Linked DNA regions of Homo sapiens: region 2 is linked to region 1. Evidence: promoter capture Hi-C in human tissues and cell types (Jung and others, 2019). All regions are on one chromosome and are shown on one strand. The core of a region is centred on a gene start or on the middle of the fragment in contact, and the rest is flanking DNA. Distances in the headings are between cores, read along the strand shown.

What was found. The method cuts DNA at HindIII sites, captures the fragments that hold promoters and counts their contacts. A contact is called where the count stands out against the background at its distance.
Region 2: a fragment that was not itself captured here is called in contact with the fragment with the promoter of MYH8 in region 1 in 2 of the 25 tissues and cell types used here (bladder and thymus).

Annotation. Positions count from the first base shown.
Region 1 is chr17:10,420,700-10,423,399 of GRCh38, forward strand. MYH8 (myosin heavy chain 8) reads right to left here and starts at 1,251. Exons shown (of 40, transcript NM_002472.3): 1 at 1,231-1,251; 2 at 964-1,007. The region is part of intron 2 of MYHAS (myosin heavy chain gene cluster antisense RNA); the gene reads left to right. The HindIII fragment of the contact is 11,670 bases long and covers 1-2,700 here.
Region 2 is chr17:10,476,917-10,479,616 of GRCh38, forward strand. The region is part of intron 2 of MYHAS (myosin heavy chain gene cluster antisense RNA); the gene reads left to right. Among named protein-coding and RNA genes, the nearest start is that of MYH4, 8.7 kb to the left of the region's middle. The HindIII fragment of the contact is 3,737 bases long and covers 1-2,700 here.

The sequences.
Region 1 (2,700 bases), core at 1-2,500:
CTTTGCCTTTTAAGATGGCCATTTTCTCTCATAAAGCAAATAATTATTTTTAACATCTTTATGTTGATATTTGGTGTTGTATCTCTCAGTGGATTGTTAGAAGAACATAATACATTCTAATACTCTGGATTTTTTGTAATTTGGGTTGTTCCCAACAGACTTAGCATTGCCTTGATTCCAAAATCTTTTTTGACATGAGAGATTTCAGCTGTCAGTTAACAGATCTAACCACAGAGGAATGAGAGCTTCAGCACAAAGGCCCTTCTTCCCACATAAATTCCATGGGTTTCTTTTCTTTCCACCCAGAAAACAGAGAAAAAAGTTTTAAGAGTACATCACATGCATGTAAGCCATTGTCTTCTGATTAATAGATAGGCCTCTGCAATGTGGACATGTTAGATTGGTTGAGTTTTTCCTTTATTTTCAATTAGAAAGTTACTTAGGGAAGGGCAGGATTCCTCTTAAATTAGTCATGGTATTTAACACCCGGTGGATGTAATACTTGCGACCTGTTAAGTAAATAATAATAAGTCTTTCTAACAACAAATAACAAATAATCAAAGGTAGCTAAAATATTTATATTTATATTTCTAGGTAAAAATCTTTCTGGAGTCTTTAAAAATGTCTATAAAATGTCCTAAGTCCTCAATGCTTTGCCATAGAAGAAGACTGGCATGGACTAGTCTATTGCCACTGGACAGTTCTAAGCACAGCTGAGAACTCACTGTTGAAGCTAATTCTGTCCTAAACGGTCTTTGAATCTTGGAACCCAAATGAGGATAGTCTCTGAGAAGAAGACATTTTGAAAAAGTTATTTTCTAGCATTTATAAACACTCACTCGGAAACACTCTTTCCTGATATAACTGCAAAAACATGGAAATGGTGTATAATTCAGGATTGTTCACAGCTTCATTAGACTATATCCCCTCTGTCATCAATAAATTAATAAAGCCAAGTCTTACCTCTGGAGTTCCAGATAAAAATGCAGGTTCAGAAGTGTTCCACTCTGTAAAACAACAAGCTTCTTATTAGTGATGCTCCGAAATTCCAATATTATAGTTACAGAATTGTTATTATAGTTACAGAATTGAAGTTTCCCTACCCCAAAGCTTGGTTCTATGAAGACAAAAGTTAAGATTGAGAGAGCAGTTTAATGCTCACAGATAACTACGAGGTCAGCTCTTTTCCCCACCTGGGGTTTTTCGAGTTCCAAGGCCTTCATCACTTACCTCTGGGTTCTTGGTGGAAATAAGGCACAAGGGGCAGTCCTGCTTATATAGGAACTAATGTGCTGATGCTGCAACTACCTCCTCTTTGTTAGGGCAAGACATTTGGCAACATGAACCCTCAGCATAGTTTGTAGTGACATTTGTCATGTTTGGATATAATTAGAAGTATTCATATCATTTTGTGTATGCAAACCAATCTCCTATAAATAATTTGACAGAGACCGATCTGCCAGCAGAGAATGCTTTCTAGTGTGCTGGGAAGGGAATCTTTGACAGTGCCTGATGGGGCCTCAGAGTAAGTTCTTAAGAGCTATATTCAATTTGGCAAACTCTTTCATGCACGCCTGTGGTAGCCAAATGATCAGATACCCGGGGCACACGGCTGTCAGGGCCTTAAGCACGTTTCCTTATTTGCTACCACGGGAACCCCCCACTGCATTCCCTTGGGCCACTACAGATGCTCACTCTTGAAGTCCAGGCTTAGACAGCAGAGATTCTACCTTGAGTCTCCACCATTGGGCCAGTGCCCACTCATCTAACTTTGAAAAACATTATTAGTAGAAAATAATATGTTTATTACAGAAAAAAATACAGGTAAGTAAAAAAAGTCTCTGTAATCTCTAATGCAGAAATAAGATAGAGGCGTATAAGTGGGATCATATTATAGATGCATATATAGTACATGTGTGCCTTGTAATATGCTTTAATAATTAATATATCATATCACTAATGTAATTTATACCCTATTCTTTAAATAAATTATGATTTTTTTTAATTAAACTCTTTCCTTTTTTTAAGGTCAGATATATTGAGGTATAATTTACATAGAGTCAAATTCACCCTTTTAAAGTGACAGTTTTATGAGGTTTTTTGCTTTTATTTTTAAAAATTTTTAAACTTTATAATAAAATTTACTTCTTTTGTTGTATGATTGTATGAGTTTTTATACACGTATTGATTCATGTAGCCACCACCACAGATAGGATGCAGAACAATTCCAGGCCTATGGGTTTGATAAATATATGCAGGTGTGTAACCTCTTACACTGTAATTACATAAAAATTAAAGCCTTAGAGATTAGGCTAAATTTTCCCTTTGATGAACACTCACAATGCTGGTATCTCCCTTTTCTCCCAAGGTAACTACGGATACCCGTTTAGTTTGTAATATTGCAGACCTTTTCTGTACATTTACATATGTATTTTCTGGGAAAATATAAATTAGTAAAACTGGTCTAAGGAAATTGGGCCATAGAAAATTTATAATATATAATATAGATGTTTAAAATATAGATAGTATGATTATTTATTTACAAACTTTCTTTTTTCATTCTACACTCTTGGATCATTTGCCATGTTAGTACATAAATAATAATATGAAAACATTTCAAACATATGCAAAAGTAGAGGGGATAGCATAATGAACCTAGTATATTCATCATCCAGCACTGATAATTATCAGTTCATGGTC
Region 2 (2,700 bases), core at 118-2,617, 56 kb after region 1:
GTCATGCTTCCTTTCAAGAATTTTATTTGTGTTCAAGTTTTGGGTATGGCGCTAAGATACCTTTAATCAAGAAAAGAAGTACCGGGAAGTCACTGCTGTTCCTGCCAACAGCTAGCATCTCCTGTAGAGTTGGCATTAGAGATAGGAAGAGAATACACTCTGTTTCCAAGTTGTGGGATAGCAATGAAAGATAACTGTAAAAAGATAAGAGGCAGTTATGTTGGGAAAATGGATTAAATGTTTTCTTTTTCATGTACTAGTTGTTTGTGAGTACTTTGGATTTTTATAAATTTTACTGGGTAAACAGTAGCCTGTTGATTTTGACAGTGTTGAAACTAAGAGAAAAGATTGAAAAAAATAATTGTTTCTTAAACATAGGTTGTAGCTGGGGAAAATGCAGAAGTAAAATGTGGATAAATACAGATATTTTTCTTTGAACAAGTAAAATGAATGTATCAATCTGAAATCTGGATTTGCCTTGAGTAACAGGAGAAATAAGACAGGATGCAATAATTGAAGAGGAGAGGCAAGTCAGGATGCAATAACTGAAGGTAAAAGATAAGACAGGATGGAATAACTGAACAGGAGGGATAAGACAGGATATAATAATTGAATGGGAGAGATAAGACAAGATACAGGGATTGGAGAGGAGAGAGAAGAAAGGATGTGATAAATGAAAAAGACAAGACAGGATGTAATAAATGACAGGGAGAGATCAGACAGGTACAACAAATGAGAGAGAAAGAGAGAGAAGACAGGATGCAATAAATGGATATGAGAGGTGAGACAGGATGCAGTACATGAGCAGGTGAGATAAGACAGGTTACAAAAATGAGTGGAAGAGACAAGATGGAATAACTCAATGCGAAAGGTAACATGACACAATAAATGAAAAAGAGAGATAAGACAGGATACAGTAAGTGAACTGGAGTGATAAGACAGGATGCATGTAGTAAATGAGCAGGAAAGATAAGACAGGATGAAATAACTAAATAGGAAAGATAAGACAAGCAGGAGTAACTGGTCAGAAGAGATAAGACAGGATGCAGTAAGTGAAATGGAAAGATAAGATAGGATGCAATAAAAGGGCAGGAGAAATAAGAAAGAGTGGAATATCTGGATTGGAAAGTTAAGACAGGATGCAATAACTAAGCAGGAGACATAAGACTGGATGCAATAACTGAACAGGACAGATAATCAGGATGGAGTAAATCAATAGGAGATGTAAGATAGGAAGTAATAACTGAAAGGGGGAAAATATTAGCTTATTACAGACAGATTCTCCTTCCTACTAGGGAATGCTTTCTGAAGCTGGTAACATTGAAGGATGAGTAGGGTGGACTTGCAAAGAGGAGGAAAAAGCATTACAACAGGAGAAAGAAGAATATGACTGTGATATTAAAATATGGGAAAGGCAGCACTTCAGTCTACCTGGGTATCATAGAATTTATAAAAGTGAATACTTTGATGCCTACAGAAAGCATGAAAGTTGGGTAAAAATTGGAGACATTCATTTACTTATACTTTCAAAATACAAGTATTGAGCATAAACTGTTCAAGGCACAATCCCAAGTGGAAGGATACAAGAATGAACAAGTAAGACCCCCAATTTACACTCATGTAGCTTGTATTTTAATCAGAGAGAAAGACATTATTATAGTTATTATAAGTAATAAATGATGATATCATATAACAGGGACATCTTAACTGTTCTGGAGGGACTAGGAAGTGAAGAGTATCACAAGGCGAAGCTTCCAAGGTGCGAAAGGACTTCTTTAGGGTTTTGGCCTTTATGCTAAGAGCAAAGGGATGGTTTTAAGCTACAGAGTGTTGTGATCAGCCTATTATTTTTAAAAAGCTCTCTCTGCCTGCAGTTTAGAATAGATTTGTGAAGTAAGAATAGGTATGTGGAAGACCAGGCAGTAGATGATAGTAGTTTGGACAAGGAAGATGACAGTAAAGATAAAGAGAAATCGATGGTCTTGAAAGATGTTTAGGAGTAGTAAAAAAAAGTTAATGATTGATTGGATATGGGGGAATGAAGGACATGTAGATTTCAAGGCTGATTCCTAGCTTTTAGCTTGAGCCAACTATGTAGATAATGTTGCCATCCACTATGATAGAGTGGTATGGGAACAAAAGCAAGTTTTAAAGAGAGGAGGGTAAGGTCATGAATTCGTCTTGGCTGTGTTGCGTTTGAAGTGCCTATTAGTAGTGAGATTGAGTCTGACTCTCAAGGGAGAGAATTAGGCTTGGGATATAAAGTTGGAATTCATAGGTTATGAATGGCAATAGAAGCTAAGGGAGTAGATGAAATCATTTAGGGAGAAAATGTTAAGTGAGAAGAGATGGGGGTCTAAGATGGGACCTTGAGTCATATCACATTGAGCTCACATAAACACTTGAAGGTTATAGAGAGGAAGTTGAACTGACAAAGGAGAGAGAAGGAGAGACTAGATAGCCAAAGCTCTGAAGAAAACCAGGGCAGGAAAAAGTCTTGGAAATCAGGTGAAGAGATCAATTTCAGAAAGAAAGAATTGTCAGATGTATAAAATGTAATTGGAAGGTTATGTTAGTTAAGGCTTGAGAAGTGTCCATTTGATTTAGCAACAAATGAATCACTGAATCATAGTGAGATCCATTTCAGTGAGGGAGCAAAAACTATTTTGAAATGAATTAAAGAGTAGGTGGGAGGTGAGG